7 separate regions of the Homo sapiens genome follow, and all the other regions are linked to region 6. Evidence: promoter capture Hi-C in 16 types of primary human blood cells and fetal thymus (Javierre and others, 2016). All regions are on one chromosome and are shown on one strand. The core of a region is centred on a gene start or on the middle of the fragment in contact, and the rest is flanking DNA. Distances in the headings are between cores, read along the strand shown. Region 1 overlaps CACNB2 (calcium voltage-gated channel auxiliary subunit beta 2). Region 2 overlaps CUBN (cubilin). Region 3 overlaps CACNB2 (calcium voltage-gated channel auxiliary subunit beta 2). Region 4 overlaps CACNB2 (calcium voltage-gated channel auxiliary subunit beta 2). Region 5 overlaps CUBN (cubilin). Region 6 holds the start of HACD1 (3-hydroxyacyl-CoA dehydratase 1). Region 7 overlaps LOC105376435 (a long non-coding RNA gene).

Region 1 (2,816 bases), core at 176-2,675, 690 kb before region 6:
GAAAACAAGACTAAAAGATTCCAGAGGAACCCATGCCACCTGCCTATAATGAACCAAAGTAGTCAATCATTCACAAATATGGATGGACAAATAAGTAAAAGCAGATATTTGGAAAATAAAAAGAAAGAAGAGCCTAAAAGGTCCAAAATAAGCAGATAAACCAATTTCAGGGAAACAAAAATACAAGGAACTTAAGCAAACTTAAACAAGCAGAAAATCCAAATTGGTATCTTCAGAGAGAGTCAAGAGATTATTGCATTTATAAAACAAGAACAAAAAGCTATGAAAAAGTACTGATGAGGCAATGAAATGTCCTTGGAAATTAAAATATACTTGCCAGCATAAAAAAATTCAATGGTCAGCATAATTAATAAAATGAATGTATTTGAAGACTAAAGTGGAGGTTTGTAAACCAAAACAGAAAATGAAAGAAAACAGTCCGGGCACAGTGGCTCAGGTCTGTAATACCAGCACTTTGGGAGGACAAGGTGGGTGGATGACTTGAGGTCAGGAGTTCGAGACCACCCTGGCCAATGTGGTGAAACCCCATCTATACTAAAAATACAAAAAAAATTAGCCAGGCATGGTGGCGCATGCCTGTAATCCCAGCTACTAGGGAGGCTGAGGCAGGAGAATTGCTCGAACCCAGTGGGTGGGTTTCTTTTCTTTATAATTTTCTTTTTTTTTTTACTTTTTTTTTTTTTTTTTTTTTTTGAGATGGAGTTTTGCTATTATTGCCCAGGCTGGAGTGCAATGGCATGATCTTGGCTCACCACAAACTCCGCCTCCTGGGTTCAACTGATTCTCCTGCCTCAGCCTCCTGAGTAGCTGGGATTACAGGCATCCACCACCACGCCCAGCTAATTTTGTATTTTTAGTGGAGATGGGGTTTCTCCATGTTGGTCAGGCTGGTCTCGAACTCCCAACCTCAGGTGACCCGCCCACCTCAGCCTCCCAAAGTGTTGGGATTACGGGCGTGAGCCACCACGCCCAGCCTAAAAAATCACTTTTTTAAATTGTATGCTTTCCTTAGTTTATCAACACAGTAAACCTAATTATTACCATCAAAGTAGACTTAATTTTAGAGAGGATAAAAGATGTTAAGAACTACGAAACCCAATCTTAATTGACAAATTTTAGAATTTCAAAGAATGAGTTTTAAAACATTGCTGAAAATACAACAGAAAAATAAACCTGTAGCACGCAAGTTGAAAAAAAAAATCTATTTGAGACCAAATTAAGAAACTGTAACTGAGTATTTACACACAGCTTAGAAACAGCAGCACTGCCATCATTTTTAGTTGGATATATAAATTAAGTCCTCTGATGATATTTCTTCAAATAACTGGTATCAGAAATAACTTTATTCATTTCTAAATGGCAAAATAATGTTAATTTTAAAATTAGTTTTCTATCTCCATTCTAATAATCTTATCAATAGTCTTTTTATTATGTGCAGGTTTGAAAACACACACCTTCCTCATTCTCAGGTGACTGTTTATCCGGACATCTATTCTGAAACAAACAGAAATACACCAGATCAAATAAAACCCACATTTTCTGGGCTGGGCGAGGTGGCTCACACCTGTAATCCCAGCACTTTGGGAGGCTGAGGCGGGTGGATCATAAGGTCAGGAGATTTGAGACCAGCCTGGCCAACATGGTGAAACGCTGTCTCTACTAAAAATACAAAAATTAGCTGGGCATGGTGGCGCGGGACTGTAATCCCAGCTACTTGGGAGGCTGAGTCAGGAGAATCGCTTGAACCCGGGAGGCAGAGGTTGCAGTGAGCCGAGATCGCACCATTGCACTCCAGCCTGGCGACAGAGCGAGGCTCCACTAAACTAAAAAAAGGAAAAAAGAAAAATCCACATTTTCTGAAGAGTCTACCCTGTTGAAGACCTGAACTGCACCATGCAGCCCCGACCCAACCACCTGTGTTCTCATGTGATGTGTACCTCTACTTCCCAGTCAAGCTCCGGCTTCAGTGTAAAAATTCTTGGCAGTCTGGTGCTTATGTAACTGTTGGAGACATTTTTGACTCTATTGGTCTCCCTCTCTGTTTCTGAATTGTCCCCTCTTTCTCCCGTCATAAATACAAGAGTCACTTTTCCTGCTACCTTTAAACATATAAAAAATAAGATAACATATTTAGTCTGAAAATAACCATTCAATATTTTAAAATTTCAGAAACATATCAAATGACAGCTTCACTTTTACTTCATTGTTGACAATATTCATTTTAGTGAAAAAATTGGTAACGACGAGGGGAGAAGGACAGCATCACTTCCGAGGAATAAGTTTTTTTTTTCTATTTTAAGGGCAATTGTGCATTGCTTCCAAACCCAAATGAGAATCAGTGGAAGTTAGTATTCAAATATGACTGCTTTAAAATTGCATTTTTTGCAAGTGCTTCATTTTCTGGCTGACATCAGCAAATACACATCAGTGAGCTGATGACATTTGATACAAAAGGGACAACTTGTTCACCCAAAAAAGTTGTCAAGTCATACCCTTGGCTCATTTTGCCAAGAGCCAAAGGTGTCAGGCATACCGTATGCCTTCTGTAACGTTGCTGGCTCCCATACTTGGCACACTTGGGGTTGTTTTTGGCAGGCTGATGCGTATCCAACCTACAATTCATTCTGACCCCAAGAGCCAGATCTCATGAAAGTGACCTTGTGGGGAAGCTGAGTGGTAACCCAAGAAATCACTGTGAGTGCTTTTACAGCATTGCCATTTTAAAATATACTTGCCATTTTACAATGATCTTTCAAGAAATGTGAAGAATAGAAAATTTTGCTGTAGGACACTAC
Region 2 (2,700 bases), core at 13-2,512, 760 kb after region 6:
TAGTTCTAAGAATGTTTTTCCATATTACTTGGGATTTTCTGCAGCTAATAGTTACTTGCAAAAGTGGAAATTTTATTTCTTCCTTTCCAGTCTCTCTATATATTTTTTCTTGCTTTATTCTGGCAAGAATTCTAATACTACGCTGAGTTAGAGGGGTGTGAAATCAATATCGTTGCCTTGTTCCTGATCTTAGGGAGAAAGCGTTTAGTATTTCACCATTAATTATGCTGTTAGCTGTAGGTTTTTGCAGATGGTTTTTATCAAGTCAAGAAATTTCTCCTCTATTCCTAGTTTGCCAAGAGTTTTTATCATGAATGTGTGTTGGATTTTGTCAAATCCTTTTTCAGCATCAACTGACATGATCATGTCATTTTGCTTAGTAAATTATTTTTTTAATTTCCAAGTTGGAAAGAATGATTCTCATAAAATGCCCTGGGGCTAATGATGTATGCATAGAGCATTTTCAGTGATATCTAAATAATGCAAGATAAATTAAAAGATAACGATAAAATTTTCCTTCTCCTAAGTTCTTTATACAAGTATTGCTCTTTTTCTATTAACTACAGCTACTGATTAGCTTGCTGAAATTACCTTTCTTTTAGTAAATTACCATTCTTTTAGTTTTATGATTCCTAAATATTACCAGACTAAATACACATTTTAATTTAGATTAAGCTGGGTTTCAAATTAGGATAACTAAAGTGAGTCAAATTAAGTGAAGCAACTAAAAACAAACAAAACAATAAAAAACCTCATTACAAAAACTACTAACTTTTTTCTTGTAAAACATAAATATTATACCTGAAGTATTGTACACATTGGAGATTAGGGAGTAAAATAATAAACACTGTTTACTTTTAGAGAAAAAGACAAAACAGGTTCGTCTGAAACCTAGTAGAATGTTTTTACATGAATACACTGCTTTGGAGCAATTGTGTATCTGCAGCTTTATAAATTACAGTAAGGCTGATTCCAAAAAAGGATAATGCATTTCTAGCCCTGCATCCCTGGGTGGTAGAAAGGAAGCTGTCTAGGTGTGCTCGAATTTCCCTAAGGCACCAGCTTTAAATGTCTTTGTATTCTGCTTCCTGTAGTTTCCAGTAAAGCTTCCTTCAGCTGCAGCCTAAAGCCACAGATGGCTTGCTGGAAACAGGAGAGGGCCTGAAGTCAAGCCAGTCTGTATCTGCTCGTACAGCACACTGTGCACCTTCTCAGTAGTGGTCAACCAGAGACAGGCAGAGATACTATCCAGACAACCTCAGGAAAATGTCAGCCGTATAGAATGTGAGCCACAAAAATGTCAATTCTCCAAATAATGATTTAAAAATGTATCTAACTCCACTGAAGCCTTCGAGATGTTTTATCCAAGAGAATGTAACTATTTTTTCCCTTATCAGATTGATCTTGGCTTAAGCTTCACTCTGAGGTTTAGTCATTGGAAGGTAATAATTCAGGATTCGGTTACCGATTTTTAATTAAGTAGATTTAGACCTGGATCTCACTCCTTATTATGGGGTTATATTTCCAATATTTCTTTAGCCAAAACATGTATTTTCTCTGAAGAAATGGCTCTTTTGTGTGAGAGAGATATTTCCAATTCAGGGAAGAAAGAGTGACGTTTGTTCTTGGACGCAGGGTGTGTCATCAGAGAGTGACTGACACACCTGATTGATGAGGCAGGTGCTGATGGATGAGAGCTGTCTAGGTGGCCCCAAAATGTGTAGTAATGAGGAAATGATGGATTGGTGATGCTAAACATATCAAGGTTAAGATGGCTTATACATTAAAAAATGCAATTTCAAAATATCAGTATGGTAAATATATATGACTTTCTGATGCGTGGGACTCTATTGCATAGTCACAGAGGTCGCCCTTGTTTATATTCCCCCACCATTGAAACACAGAAAGAGCAATGTGGCAATAGCTCCTTTTGGGAAAGAACCCTTCTTTTGTTAATATTGATCATTACGTTTTCTCAAAGACATATACACTTACATTTCATTTTGCATGGAGCAGTTTTGCTATATTTAAGCACTAAAGAGGGGGAATTAGAGCAATTGCTATTCCCTGCACTACACAAATAACTGTTCACTCATGTAATATGATATTCACTTCAAATATTTGATTATTTTGGCCAGGATTATCTCATGATATTTTTCTCCATGTTCTTTATTCTGTGTGTATATTTTGTGAATTGAACAATGAGCTCTATTATAGTTTGATAGCTCAAACAAGCTATTAATATTAGTTGTGTGTATTAGTCTGCTATTACCATGACAGTGCTACTTAACAAACCATCCAAAATTCAGTGTCTTATAATGAAAGCATTTGTTTTTATCACTTATGGGTCCACGGACTAGCTTGCCTGCCTCCGTTCCAAGCTGCGGGTTGGCTGTAGTTGGCTGTAAAGTTGAGTCTGGGTTCAAGTCTGCTCCACATGAATCCACTTTTTCTTTGAACCAGCAGTTACTCAGCACATGATATCTTAGTGGATCACAGGAGCACAAAGTCCTAGACAACAATAAAAACAAGAACAAAACGTAAGCACGTTTAAGGCCTCTGGCTGCTTCATGACCACTAACACTCATTCTAAAGCAAGTCGTAGGGCTAAGCCTAACATCAAGTGCACAGAAAAATATACTCTCCATTTTAGTGCAGTGCAAAGAGAGATACTGAAGAATTAAAAATCAGCCAGTTAAG
Region 3 (2,879 bases), core at 304-2,803, 680 kb before region 6:
CCTGCCTTTGCATCTGAGCATTTTTCCTTTGCAGGGAATGCTTGAGTCCCACATTTCCCCGTGGCTGACTCTGTTACCTTCTTCAAGTCTCTGCTCAAATAGGTTTAACCAACCAATTGGCAACACCACCTCTCAATTCCTGGCACTTCCTAACCCCTTCCCTGTTCTATTTCATTCACCATCTTATGTACTACTTAGGTATTTGCTTTTTGTCTTTCTCCCTTCCCTAGAATGTAAGCTCTATGATGTTGGAGATTCTCAAGGATCTTTTTCACTGCGTCCTCGGTACCTAGAGGATCATAGAAGAGGCACTCTGTGAACATTTGTTGAATGAATGTCGAACCCTTGTACCAGGATGATCTGATAAGCCTCAGCACATCTCAGAGAACATGCTGGTTGCTATCATCTTTTCCATTGCACAGAGAGCTACACTGTCAAGCAGTTTAACCAGTTGCCTAGATACCACTCTGACCAGGCATGAACAGGAGAAAGAAGGTGGTGGTCCACTCTGGGGCTTGCAGTGTTCCACAAGATGTGTTCATGTTTATCACATGGAGTGAAGCAGGTCTCGGAAACGTGCCCGAGGGGCCAGGGAGGAAGAGTTACATGATCTTCTGTCACCACTGGGAAGTTTACTATGTGGTTAAAGAGACAAGGGGAATCATTTTATTCTCCTCCTGAACTCAAGTCTAAATAAATATCCAAATGGAAACTGGCCAGTGGCAAAAGCAGGAAGACCAGATACATTTCACTTCACATAGCCAAAAAATGCAGGGAAACGTCATTCAATACCTAAAAAACCGTGACTGGTGAAAACTGAAGCAATGATCAACATTTCAAAGTCTCTCTCTCTATGCCCTAAAGTCAAACTAAGGAATTTTATCATAGTCATTAACATGAATGATTGGACCACTGCATAATCAGCACACACCAACCAAATGACTGTATTCTCTGTAATATGGCAGTCATTAAACTCATAACTCATCTTTGGACAAACCTGGTACAGAGGCATTTTGTAATAGTGTGGGATACACCGGGGAATTTTTAACCTGAGGAAATGAAACTATGCTGACTCTCTTGAAATAAGTGCTCCTAAATTTTTAGCCAACAACTTGAACTTTTCAAAAAATATTAGCATAATTGAGTATGAAGTAAACCCAACCCAAGGGTAGAGTCTGAGCTTAATGTTTCAAGTTTTGCTTTCATGGTAGAAACATGCCATTAGGCAGGCACTAGTTTGACAGAATTAATCTTTTAGGAGTATTAATCAGATGAAGGAGGGGATGTACTTCTGAAACGACTCTTTTCTTTAATGTTTATGTGCTGGCAGAAAGTAGCAAACTCACATTTGGACATCAGAACTAGCCCTTGGACCCATCCGTATAAGGAGGGAAAGAAACTCACCAGTTAGGCCAAAGGTTCCTGAATCATATCTCTTGGTTTTACTAAGAGGAAGTGAAGAATCAACGATAACAATAATATGAAGACAAAAAGTATCCATTATTAAAAGCGAATTAACTTCAAAAATTTTGTCAATTTTTCTGAAATAATTTTGAGAGTTGTGTTTCAAACTAAGGTACACCTCTTTTAATTAAGTACTCTTAAAGAATAACTGTCTATAACAGAAAAAAGCCACAATAACCATTTTTAGACAAATATGGTGCTATTTCATATAAAGTAAGAATAACCTAATTGGTGAATTTCAAATTAAGGTAGTAAACGTTATCTCTTGACCAAAAAGATGGAATTATTTATTTTTCCTACATTATTGCCAAAAAACCATAATGATGATCTAATAATAAATTCTATGATGAGTATGGTCGAGGTTGCATGGGCTGGTGGTAAAAAATTTGGTGTTTAGACACACAACTTTCTGTACAGAATAGAAAGGAATCCATTTGCCTGTTAATTTTAATGTATCAAGCTCACTTAACATGATAGCAGGAAACTAAAGCCCTTATTTTTTAAGAGTTTACAGATTGTTCTCGTTATTCTGAGCTCAATCTGGTAGGTTTTGTGTTTTTGGTAGGAAACTACCTTAAATCTATATATATAATTTTATTTTATTTTGAGATGGAGTCTCACTCTGTCTCCCAGGCTGGAGTGCAGTGGCCCGATCTCAGCTCACTGCAACCTCCACCTCCTGGGTTCAAGCGATTCTTCTGCCTCAGCCTCCTGAGTAGCTGGAACTATAGGCACTCGCCACCAGGCCTAGCTAATTTTGGTATTTTTAGTAGGGACGGGGTTTTACCATATTGGCCAGGCTGGTCTCGAACTCTTGACCTCGTGATCTGCCCGCCTCGGCCTCCTAAAGTACTGGGATTACAGGCGTGAGCCACTGCACCCAGCCACCTTGAAACAATATTAAGGAGTCAAATTTGATTAGGATTAACATGCCGTTGTTATTACTGAAATGTTAAACTTTATACATGTCTATCATTGATTGAGGGCAATTACTTAGATACGTAAAATTAAGAAACAGCTATGCTATCTTGTTTCCAAGGAAAAAAGGAACACACCAACAATATCACTGAATAATGAAAATCACATATTCTACCCTTAACATTTGACTTACCCCAAAAAAGAAATCTAGGCAATCTTTACTCAACACAAACAGTTTTGGAGTTGAAAACATGTTAAAATCATAACCTTGACTTTGTATGAATGCACTTTAAATTCTGTGTGTGTATGCAAAGGTGAAGCAAACCTAAAAACCTAAAAATGGCAAAACAAACTGAGTGTTTACATGTCTTATAGTTCATATTTTAGCAAGCACTCCACCGTGACTTTGCCAAAGGATTTCTAACACTTACAAAGATATTTATATGCTTTTCTAAGACAAATGCTTTCTGAAGGTTTTCCAAATACTCTTACCAACA
Region 4 (2,752 bases), core at 251-2,750, 650 kb before region 6:
TGGAGATAGGTGGAATAGAAAGAAAAGATTCCAGAGCTCTCAAGGAAGTAGCAATGATCGAACATGATTGAATGGATCAGAAAGTAAAGAAGAGGGACAGGACCATGTTTCTGGCTTGGACAATGGAGAGTATAAAAGTGTCATTTAATCTAACCAGTAAATGAGGAGTAGATATAAGTAGTGGTGGGAGAGTGGAAGGGAGGAGCAGAGAGAGGGAGGAACAGGACCGCAAGGATGGAGCTCAGTCTTGTATAACCATGTTTACAGTGCCTGGAGAGTTTCCAAATAGAGATGTCTGGAAACTTTTGAATATGGGTCTAAAACTTGGAAGAAAGATCTGGGCTGGGCATATTGATTTGGTAGCTATCAGCGTATGTGCAGAAAAGTTTAACTTCAATTTCTCTAGCCATTTTTTCTAGGTCTATTTTCTTTCAGATTTTCTTTCTTTTGAGCATTCCTCAAATGTTATGTTACCATTCACCAGCTTCTCTAGAGTTGAGGATGGACTCATGACCACCTGAAGGAATAGCAATATGGCAAGACATTGAATATATCATATGTAGATTAGGAGAAATAGGAAGAAAAAAATGGAGACAGGAGAATGTGGTATCACAGAAGTGAAGGGAAAAGTGTTTTAGACAGTGGGATGGGGCCATGTCTAACAGATGTGACCATGTGACCATCATGAGTTGTGTGTATCTTTAGTGACGGATGATAATTCAGTAGGCTAGCACAAATTAATGGAAATATCTCTTAAGATGATGTAAATTCACCTGCTTAGATCTCATATATTCCTTCTGACCTTTATTTATTTAGGAAATCTGCCAGCAACGAAGGTGTACCACAGTGCAAATCAACTCAGTAGGACTTGATCACCCTTCGTGAAACAGGTTCTTATCATGCAAAGCAAAGGACTTAACCCTAACCCACAGTTAAGCACCTCCACATATAACATCTCATGAAGGCCAGACCTAAAGGACATTTGGGAGCTCATAGCAGTGCTGCTATGAGACACTTCTTGATCAAGAAGAAGGCCAGACCTTGCCCTTCTTTATTCCAAAATACTTTGAGTACATATGACAATTTCTCAATCAGTAGACTCCTCCATTTATGAATTACTTTTGCTCAATGCATTTCAGGTTGAGTGTTTTCTAGTGAGGTAGGAGATAACATATTTAAATTTTATAAGCCTTTCTGGGAAAAGGTGAGGGATAAATTAATTTTAAGGCATTTGTCACATTAAATATGTATTATTAAATTAAAACATACTTATTGCAACATACTTAATGATGTAAAAGGTAAAATCCTGCCTGTTCCTCTATAATCTCATTTTCATGTGCTGTTCGTATACTGGTAAAGTCTTTTAGACCTCTACTCATGCAAACACCAATATAAATGCAAACACATGTAGAATAAATGCAATCATACTATATACATTGCTCTACGTCTTAATTTTTATATAACGTATTCTCAGAATATAAACCTCCTTCTACGTAAGTCTATACAAATCTAGCCTTTTCTCTTTAATGTCTATATGCTATTTCCTACTATAGGTGGTATACCATTTATTTATTCCTATTGTCAGATAATCCTGTTATGTCAAACACATTTTAATGTTCCGGAAACTCATATATTTCCACTGCTAGACTAGACTTTTCTGAGAACAGAGATGAAAGGTTCAATTCCTCTGTACATTTCTAACTTTCAGAATAGCCTTGGGCAAAGAGCAGGGACTCAGTAATTGCTTCATGAATGAACAGTTAGATGATGACCACTACATTCCTACATAATTCAATACGCTTTACAAGAGCTTTCTTTAAAACAATGAAGGCATCCTTCTAAAAGGGACTGCTCTTTTTCAGCACTGGAGAAGTTGTACTCAGATGCAGAGGGAGGTGGGAATAATCACAATTGAAACAGTTCACATTTACTTGAGTACTTACTCCGTGCCAAGTGTTTTCATAGTTTAACACATTTAATAATCATAGAAAACTTAAGAGTAAGACTCTTATTATTCTTGTTTCATAGAAAGGCAAGTTGAGGCACAGAGTGATGAAGTAACTTGCAGGAGCTTCTCTGGTGTGCAAAGGCTGGGCCGCTGCCCCGGAAGTGTCATTCACACATGAAACTGCCTCTCCAATGGGAAGAAAAAGTGATAGGTGTTAACTGGGGCTGTGCTGGGAGATGCTAAGGCAACCAGAGGGTCCCATGACCCTGAACATGCACCAACAAGCTCATTCTCTACACATGCCCAGAGGTTGCCAACCACCAACTTAATTTCATTTTCCCGCCTCTGTGCTTCTTAATGTTTATATGAAAGTTTACCTCATTTCCCTTTTTATTTTTTTGTTTTCTTTTTTGAGATGGAGTCTCACTCTGTCACCCAGGCTGGAGTGCAGTGGTGTGATCTCAGTTCACTGCAACCTCCACCTCCTGGGTTCAAGTGATTCTCATGCCTCAGCCTCCTGAGTAACTGGGATTACAGGTGCCCGCCACCACACCTGGCTAATTTCTGTATGTTTAGTAGAGATGGGGTTTCACCATGTTGGCCAGGCTGGTCTTGAAATCCCGACCTCAAGTGATCTGCCCACCTTGGCTTCCCAAAGTGTTGGGATTACAGGAGCGAGCCACCACACCCAGCCCCTTATTTAATTTTAATAAAATGTCATTATGTAGTGAGGTTTATAATTAAAGCCAAATTTAAAGTTCTGAAAAAAATTAAGGATTTTAACATGGCCAATATTAAAAGCTA
Region 5 (2,854 bases), core at 200-2,699, 780 kb after region 6:
ATGAAATAATTTTCTAAGTTACTTCCAGCTTAATGTGTTTTTCATCCATACACAAAGCCCTCCAATCAGGTGTGTCGAGAAACTTGAACTTGGTCCTGCAGGTCCAGAGCTCTCAAAGCTTCATGTGCCTAAGAATGCATTAAGATGCATCTTAAAAGTGCATCCTCCCTGGCCCACCCTCAGAGACCGAATCCCCCATATAACACCCATTTATCTGAATTTTTGACAAACACCTCTGGTGTTTTGGTGCCAGTACCAGAACTCCATGGACCATGCTTGGAGAAATACCTCTAGTTAGTGGGATTTATGTATAGGTTGAATTGAAAGGGTCAGTACAGAACACAAGAGAATCAGTGAAGAGGCTGTTTGGCACTAGTCTGATAGGTTTATATTCATGGTAATATAAGAGAGATAAAAAGAAAAGGGCTGGGTGTGGTGGCTCATGCTTATAATCCCAGCACTTTGGGAGGCCAAGGCTGGTGGATTACCTGAGGTCAGGAGTTCAAGATCAGCCTGGCCAGTGTGGTGAAACCCTGCCTCTACTGAAAATACAAAAAATTAGCTGGGTGCAGTGGTGTGCGCTTGTAATCCCAGCTACTCAGGAGGCTGAGGTAGGAGAATCGCTTGAACCTGGGAAGCAGAGGTTGCAGTGAGCCAAGATCGCGCCACTGCACTCCAGCCTGGGTGACAGAGTGAGACTTCGTCTCAACAACAACAACAACAAAATCCATTTTGAGCTTTAAAAAAGGCTGAGTCTGAATTTCCTCTGGAATAAGATGTTGAGGAGACAGTTGGACACAAAGTGGGTTGTTGACCAAAGGCCCAAAGATTTTTGTGCATCATCATTATCATGATAGGTAATTGAAAAATGAGAAGAATGAGATTATCTGGGGAAAATATGCAAAGGGATTGGCCACGAACTGAGGATGGATACCAGGAGAACATCTGAGAATACCTGGATTGTCTTTCTGCAGTTTGGGGAGCAACTAACCCTCCCCAGTTCATTCCAGTAAAATGTCATGGTCAAAGCCCCATATGCTGGACTAGTAGAGTATCTGTTGTCTTCTGAGTTTTCAGGGTCCCCTTCATTATAAATCTGGGGTCCCCTGCTTCTCATGTGGTCTTGCTGGGGAAAGAAAAGTCCAGGTTGTGTGACTCCAGAGTGGAGAGGCGTGAGATGTGCTGGCAGCTGAATAGACCCTGGACTTGCTGAGTTTGGTGCAAAGCATATATGCTGAGATGAGCTCCCAAGGTGGACAAGATGCTAGATTATCGTCATTCCATTGGTAATGGTTTTCAGGACAAAATCTCTATTACCCATTGGTACCCTAGAGGACTTACAGCCAAGTGGAACAGGCCCTTTGGGTGAAAGCTCTCTCAATTTTCCCTGGCTTCACGAAGCTAAGACAATGGGGATCAGGGTGGACCACTCAGCGGGGCACAGAATGGCACTTTCAGGGCACGAGACACCGTCTGAAACATAACAGCAGCTGGAGCAGCCTCGAGTAAGACCCAGTGTTTGTCATGACTGAATAATGTTTTCCACTGAATGAATACAGGAAACAATCAAGGGTTTCGGACTGGGTAGGTAGGGAGGAAAGACAAACATTGACGGATGAGCTGGGAGAAACTGGGATTCTCGGGGTATCCAAGAGTAGACAGAGCAGCCCTAATTGGCAGATCATGAAGGAATGATGTGTAGGGTGGTTACGGAGGATGTTCAGTGGTTAGCTGGCACTGGAGATGAACAGAGATGCAGAGATAGAAGGCCCTAAGGTTAAGAAATATGAAGTTGAGGGTGTTTAATGGCTTGTCTATAAAAACACAGAAACCTCTAAAGGGTTCAGAAAGGAAATCAGGGGCAGGAGATGACTATGAGCTGAGACACCTCAAGTCTTTCATAAATGAAGGGAAGTAACTGGGAGAAAAGTAAATGAGAGTGACGATAATGGTAAGAATATCTTTGGCCAGATGTAGAGACCGTCGAAGGAGAACCAGCTTTGAGACGAGGATGGAAGCTGCAGTGAGGAATGTGGAGCCTCCCTCCCTTCCCCCGAGGCTGGCCCCCCACCCTTCCCACTCAATGAACTGTGGAGCATGGGTAAAGAACAGCCTCTACCAGGAGGCTGCTGGAGAACCAGGTTTTGCTAAGGCCACAAAGTGGAAAGGTGGGGGATGTATACCGAGAATGACTGACAGTGCAGTTAAAGTTCACAGGATACAGCAAAGTTAGACAAGGACCAAGAGCAGGAGACAGTGGGGAAGAGGGGTGGAAGCCCCGAGCAGTTACAGGAGTTTTGCAAGCAGAGACGGGTGGGGTGTTTCAGTAGGTTCCTAAGAACTGCAGATATTAGAGACATTCCTGTGACAGGGAGGCTGCAAATACCCTGACTTTGGTACAACTTGTTTTTACCCAAGAACTGATGGGCATTCGACTGCATTTACTCCAGGCTTTTGAGAGGTGATGAGGGCTGCCCTAGTGTTACAAAGGGGAACCGGTACCTCATGACAGGCCCCGGCTGGCTTGGGGGATGTACAGTGGAACCAAAGGCTCTGATTAGATTTGCTAAGGGGTAGCAAGGGCTGGATCAGGGTGATGGTGGTTGTTAGTCCCATGGAGCTCAGGACAATGGCAAAAGCCCCAGGAGGAGAGATCCAGTGAGCTCTCAAACAGCCTAGATCCTCAGAGCAATGGCACAGGCCTCAGCTAGGAAGTTGCATAAAAGGCGAGGGATCTTATTTTCAGCAGGGAAATGTCTGTGGTTTCAGCAGAAGCTTTGCCTCCCTTCCTCCTGCCCCTCTGGGAAGGTGCAACTTGCATCAATTCCAAGGCCAACGTGAGTCTTCTTGCAGA
Region 6 (2,892 bases), core at 191-2,690:
TCCCAAAGTGCTAGGATTACAGGGGTGAGCCACCACACCCAGCCTTCCTTTCCTTTTTTTTTTATTTTTTTGAGACAGAGTCTCACTCTGTCGTCCAGGCTGGAGTGCAACGGGCGATCTCTGCTCACGATTTTTAAAAATTATTTCCACTAAGGAAACTGAGGCATGGATAGGTTACGTTGTCCAAGTTCACACAGCTAATAAAATGGGAGGATTCAGGAATTTGGGGGTTGTATTTCAGTAGGTGCAAGGAATTTCAAAAGGTAATGTCATCAGTTAAGGCAGGAACCGGCCACACTTCTTTAGTGATTCTTCAGTTACTTTAGGCCATCTGGATGTATACGTGCAGGTCACAGGGGATATAATGGCTTAGCTTGGGCTCAGAGGCCTGACACTTGGTAAATAGACACACACACAGACACACAGACACACAGACACACACACACACACACACACACGCTCCGGTAAAATTCACACAAGTGAGGCCGGGTGCGGTGGCTCACGCCTGTAATCCCAGCACTTTGGGAAGCCAAGGCGGGTGGATCACTTGAGGCCAGGAGTTCGGGACCAGCCTGGCAAACGTGGTGAAACCGTCTCTACTAAAAATAACAAAAATTAGCCGGGCGTGGTGGTGCATGACTGTAGTTCCAGCTACTCGGGAGGCTGAGGCAGGAGAATCTCTTGAATCAGGGAGGCGGAGGTTGCAGTGAGCCGAGATCACAACACTGCACTCCAGACTGTAAAAAAAAAAAAAAATAAGAAATGAAAAAGGAAAAAAAAATCACTCAAGTGGGACGGTCTTCTCACTGTTGGAAGACCTGTTGGACTCGCTAGTAAACGGGAAACAGGGCGAAATAGGCGTTTCTTCCCCAGAAGCTCTTAAGAATGAATGAATGTTTGGCCCAGCGCTGTGGCTCAGGCTTGTAATCACAGAACTTTGGAAGGCAGAGGTGGGAAGATTGCTTGAGCTCACGAAATTGCAGTGAGCTATGTTCACGTCACTGCCCTCCAGCCTAGGAGACAGACTGAGACCGCATCTCTAAAAAGAAAAGAATGAGTGGCGGGAAGATCCCGCTCCCTGCCTGCGTATTGAGAAACTGCCTTACAAAAGGCCAGGCAGGGCAGAGCCACGCCAAGTTCAGGTGCGTTCCCTGTGTCCCCACTAAATGCACTCGCAGGGTGCGCATCGCCAGGGCGCAAGGCGTCTGGGCGTCTCTCTATGAAGAGGCGCCCGCAGCTAGCGAGGCGGGTGCACTTTCCTCGGGAGCGGAAACTACAGCGCCGCCTGGAAAGCGTGCCGGGGCTCGCGGGTCCTGGATCCCCAGTGCCAGGGCCAGGCGTTCTGGCCCCCGAGTGGCGCGCGCTCCCAAGGGGCGGGGCGGGGCGGGGGCGTGACGGGCGGTGGCCGGGGGCGTCCGCTCCTCCCCCTCGCGGTCGGTAGAGCTGGCTGCGCCGAGCCCCCTGCGCGCTGCACATGGGGCGCCTGACGGAAGCGGCGGCAGCGGGCAGCGGCTCTCGGGCTGCAGGCTGGGCAGGGTCCCCTCCCACGCTCCTGCCGCTGTCTCCCACGTCCCCCAGGTGCGCGGCCACCATGGCGTCCAGCGACGAGGACGGCACCAACGGCGGCGCCTCGGAGGCCGGCGAGGACCGGGAGGCTCCCGGCGAGCGGAGGCGCCTGGGGGTCTTGGCCACCGCCTGGCTCACCTTCTACGACATCGCCATGACCGCGGGGTACGCGCGCCGCGGGGCACCCTCGGGCCCTCCCCGCGCCGCGGTCCGCGGAGGTTCCGGGTTCAGGGGGCGCGGGCCGGGGTGTAAGGGGCGCGGGGGGTGCGGGCAGCGGCCGTGGGGGAAGGGAGCTGTCGCCGCGGCCACCGCCGGGGTTGAATGGAGCGGGCGGGGGGGCCGGGCCCTGCGCGCCTGGCATTGCCTAATACGGTGCACGGCGGGGCGCTGGCCGGAGGTTAAGTATAGAACCGGGCAGGAATGCGGTGCCGGCCCGCGGGGGAGGTGGCTGCTGCCCCGGCGCCGCTGCCTTCGCTGCTGTTGAAGGAGCGCCCAGCCCTGGCCACTCGATGGTCTCGGGAGCGCAGAGCTTCATGCTGCGATCGCTGGGCAGAGTTTTCGCCCCTGTTAATTTCACCGCGACTTTTTTTTTTTTTTTTTTTTAAAGCACAGCACGTCCTAGAGCTTGTCACTTGGGACGATTTTGAAATAACCACCCCACTTATCCCAGCGTGGAGCTCCTGCCCAGCATCTTTATGGCCTCAGGCTCCGTGGCTGATAAGCTGGACCTTGATTTTTGGCTTTGAGTATGACTTTGCAAGTTAAGGTTACACAATGACTGTCGCTCTTCGCAGAGCTCTCAAAGTGACTTTTGTGTCAACTGCTTCTCAAAACCTGTTGGGAAAATGCTTTTCCATTTCTCAATTGCACTGCCTTTTAAAAAAGTTATTTTCCCATTATCACTCGAAGTATTAACTTATGTAAACGCGAGGAAAAGTTTACTATTTTCTTTTTTTCTTTTTATTATTTATTTATTTATTTTGAGACGGAGTCTCGCTCGGTCTTGGCTGGAGTGCAGTGGCGGGATCTCGGCTCACTACAAGCTCCGCCTCCCGGGTTCATGCCTTTCTTCTGCCTCAGCCTCCCGAGTAGCTGGGACTACAGGCGCCCGCCACCACGCCTGGCTAATTTTTTTGTATTTTTAGTAGAGACGGGGTTTCACCATGTTAGCCAGGATGGTCTCCATCTCCTGACCTCATGATCCGCCCGCCTCGGCCTCCCAAAGTGCTGGGATTACAAGCGTGAGCCATCCCGCCCTGACAGTATTTTATTTTATTTTTTAGACGGAGACTCATTCTGTCGCCCAGGCTGGAGTGCATTGGCGCG
Region 7 (2,765 bases), core at 172-2,671, 800 kb after region 6:
AGCAGTTGGCTTTTGGTTATGCAAATATCTCTAGCAAGTGGATGCCTCACAGCCTGCTTGAATTCCTCTCCTGAAAAAGCTTTTTCTTTCTCTGCCATATGGCCAGGCTGTAAATTTTCCAAATTTTTACACTCTGCTTTCCTTTTTAATATAAGTTCCAATTCGAAGTCATTTCTTTGCTCCCACATCTGAGCACATGCTATTAGAAGCAGCCAGCCCAAATCTTGAACACTTTGCTGCTTAGAAATTTTTTCCACCAGATACCCCAGGTTGCCACTCTTTAGTTCAAACTTCCACAGATCCCTAGGGCATGGACAGAATGCAGCCAAGTTCTTTGCTAAGGCATAATATGTGTCACCTTTGCTCCAGTTCCCACTAAGTTCCTCATTACCATCGAAGACCTTGGCAGCCTGGACTTCATTATCCATATCACTATCAGAATTTTAGTTGCAACTTTTAAACAGTCTCTAAGAAGTTCCAAATTTTCCCTCATCTTTATGTCTTCTGAGCCTTCCAAACTCTTCCAACCTCTACCCATTATCTTGTTCCAAAGTCAGTTCCACATTTTCAGGTATCTTTATAACAAAACCCCACTCCTGGTACCAATTTTCTGTAATAGATCATTCTTGCATTGCTATAAAGAAATACCCGAGACTGGGTAACTTATAAAGAAAAGAGGTTTAATCTGCTCACAGCTCTGCAGGCTTTATAGGAAACATGGTGCTGACATCTGCTTGGCTTCTGGGGCAGCCTCAGGAAGCTTATAATCATGGAGGAAGGCGAAGGGGAAACAGGCATGTCACACGGTGAAAGCAGGAGCAAGACAGCGAGAGTATGGGACAGGTGCCACACACTTTTAAGTGGCCAGCTCTCATGTGAACTCAGAGCAAGAGCTCACTTATCACCAAGGGTATGGCCCAAGCCATTCATGAGGGATCTACCCCCACGATCTAAACACCTCCCACCAGGCCGATCTCCAACACTGGCTTTTATAACTCAACATGAGATTTGAGCAGGGACAAATATCCAAACTCTATTATGTATTTACGCTCAGGAGTACAAAGTTTCCATAAGCACCACCATTGCCTATTCCTTAACACAATATGTTAAGTTATAAATAAACAATATGGTTTGCCACTTAACAAGAAGTAGAAAGTTCAGTAGCACATCCTTATCTCCAATGCTGCCAGACATGTAACTAAGTGAGGTAGTTATTAGCTTCCTTTTCATAAGAAAATTCAATGCTTTTATAAAGTTTTTCAGTGCCTCTAGAAAAGCGGAAGCCTTTACAAAGGAGATTTGCTTTATGTTAATTATGCAAAATCAAGGGTTATTAACAAAAGACCATGTGAATGAGAGAAGCTGAGGAATGTAACTTCATCTTACTCTAATACTCAAATGGCAGATAATTATTTCTGGACAGAGTATGGAGCCACAGAAATAAAATACTCTAACCTTGAAAATTCAGCTACTCAGGAGGCTGAGGCTGGACAATCACTTGAACCTAGGAGGCGGAGGTTTCAGTGAGCCAACATCGCGCCACTTCACTCCAGTGTGGGTTACAGAATGAGACTCCATCTCAAAAAAACAAACAACAACAACAACAATTCCTGCTCCCTTTTTGTATTATGGATAGACATATCAACTTTATGGGTGACAATTACATTGGAAAGGACAGTGAATGCGATAAGTAACACCATCAAATCCAAAAGGTCTTGATAAGCTACAACAATGGGCCAATTGTAACAGACGAAATGTGACAGATATAAGATCTTCCTCTTTTATCAAAAAATGAATTGCAAAAGTACAGAATACAGGGAAAGTTTAACAATAACATGAAATGACATAGTACTTTTCTGAAAGAAAGATTAACATGATGTCACTGTCAAAAAAATGATGCTTAGAGCATGGACTGCATCATTAGAGTAACGGTATCATTTCCACTCAGAAGGGCATGCTTTTCTAGGAGGCATATTGGAATATCTGGGAAGTGTGTACCTGAAATTGAGGAAAGCATAGTCAATATTATTATGTAATTTTAAAATTAAAAATACAGAAAAAAAGAGACAAAATGAAGCTTTACAAAATCTTCCAGGCTGGGCATCTAGGAAATAAGCAGTGATTTTTTAGTGGGTTAGGGATGGTCAGGCTTGGGAGCATGACATTTTCGTGTATAGCCAAGGGAAGTAGTTATTGAGTAATTCAGTTTTTGAGTAATTCAGCTGGAAGAAGGAGAAAAGAGTCAACTGTACTCTCATTCGTAAGACCCACCGTATATCCTCTGGTTCTGCTTTACATTTAATTCACTTGTTTCCAAATGTTTATTGAGCATCAGCTATGTGATACGTACTCAGCGCACTGAGGATAAAGCAGAGAACAAGACAGCCATACAAGACTATCAGCTGATGTCTCCCAGCTTCACAAAGCACACTTCCCAGCTCCATCTTGCTTGATTTCCTGAGCCAGTCCTGAGGCAAAAACCTTAATATTCTTATCTGGTGAAACATACATTGAGCCAACTTCCCAGATCTAGTGGCCAAGGGATAAGTTTCCTGATTCCAAATTGTGTCACCATGAAGTTTCACTGCTAGCAATCAGGACCCTGGACAGGCTAACCATCATCCTAGCAAATTAATCAAACCTGAGAAGGGGGTGTGGGAACCCTGATTTATAGCTGGTCAGTCAGAAGTGTAGGTGACAGTCAACCTAAAGTCTTGTGGAAATGAACCCTTAACTTGTGGGATTTGACTATAAGTTGAGGTAGA

Evidence for each region. Contacts are between HindIII fragments. The CHiCAGO score rates a contact against its expected background, and 5 or more counts as called.
Region 1: a fragment that was not itself captured here is called in contact with the fragment with the promoter of HACD1 in region 6 in 3 of 17 cell types (monocytes, M1 macrophages and M2 macrophages); the score reaches 5.4 in monocytes.
Region 2: a contact is called between a fragment that was not itself captured here and the fragment with the promoter of HACD1 in region 6, in 4 of 17 cell types (megakaryocytes, M1 macrophages, erythroblasts and 1 more). The highest score is 6.8, in megakaryocytes.
Region 3: a contact is called between a fragment that was not itself captured here and the fragment with the promoter of HACD1 in region 6, in 1 of 17 cell types (monocytes). The highest score is 7.9, in monocytes.
Region 4: a contact is called between a fragment that was not itself captured here and the fragment with the promoter of HACD1 in region 6, in 2 of 17 cell types (monocytes and M2 macrophages). The highest score is 5.8, in monocytes.
Region 5: a fragment that was not itself captured here is called in contact with the fragment with the promoter of HACD1 in region 6 in 5 of 17 cell types (M0 macrophages, M2 macrophages, megakaryocytes and 2 more); the score reaches 8.8 in M0 macrophages.
Region 7: a fragment that was not itself captured here is called in contact with the fragment with the promoter of HACD1 in region 6 in 5 of 17 cell types (megakaryocytes, M2 macrophages, erythroblasts and 2 more); the score reaches 10.1 in megakaryocytes.

The regions. Positions count from the first base shown.
Region 1 is chr10:18,308,504-18,311,319 of GRCh38, reverse strand. The region is part of intron 2 of CACNB2 (calcium voltage-gated channel auxiliary subunit beta 2); the gene reads right to left. Among named protein-coding and RNA genes, the nearest start is that of CACNB2-AS2, 48 kb to the right of the region's middle. The HindIII fragment of the contact is 3,209 bases long and covers 1-2,816 here.
Region 2 is chr10:16,855,244-16,857,943 of GRCh38, reverse strand. All of the region lies in intron 59 of CUBN (cubilin), which reads left to right. Among named protein-coding and RNA genes, the nearest start is that of RSU1, 39 kb to the right of the region's middle. RefSeq lists a silencer at 1,498-1,698. The HindIII fragment of the contact is 308 bases long and covers 1,109-1,416 here.
Region 3 is chr10:18,291,847-18,294,725 of GRCh38, reverse strand. All of the region lies in intron 2 of CACNB2 (calcium voltage-gated channel auxiliary subunit beta 2), which reads right to left. Among named protein-coding and RNA genes, the nearest start is that of CACNB2-AS2, 32 kb to the right of the region's middle. The HindIII fragment of the contact is 3,675 bases long and covers 1-2,879 here.
Region 4 is chr10:18,267,214-18,269,965 of GRCh38, reverse strand. The region is part of intron 2 of CACNB2 (calcium voltage-gated channel auxiliary subunit beta 2); the gene reads right to left. Among named protein-coding and RNA genes, the nearest start is that of CACNB2-AS2, 7.1 kb to the right of the region's middle. The HindIII fragment of the contact is 5,111 bases long and covers 1-2,752 here.
Region 5 is chr10:16,836,516-16,839,369 of GRCh38, reverse strand. The region is part of intron 62 of CUBN (cubilin); the gene reads left to right. Among named protein-coding and RNA genes, the nearest start is that of RSU1, 21 kb to the right of the region's middle. The HindIII fragment of the contact is 2,657 bases long and covers 121-2,777 here.
Region 6 is chr10:17,615,922-17,618,813 of GRCh38, reverse strand. HACD1 (3-hydroxyacyl-CoA dehydratase 1) reads left to right here and starts at 1,440. Exons shown (of 7, transcript NM_014241.4): 1 at 1,440-1,731. The coding sequence starts at 1,475. RefSeq lists a silencer at 1,240-1,899. The HindIII fragment of the contact is 16,531 bases long and covers 1-2,892 here.
Region 7 is chr10:16,820,061-16,822,825 of GRCh38, reverse strand. It overlaps LOC105376435 (a long non-coding RNA gene), which reads right to left. Exons shown (of 3, transcript XR_930708.3): 3 at 1,569-1,998. Among named protein-coding and RNA genes, the nearest start is that of RSU1, 4.0 kb to the right of the region's middle. The HindIII fragment of the contact is 1,317 bases long and covers 763-2,079 here.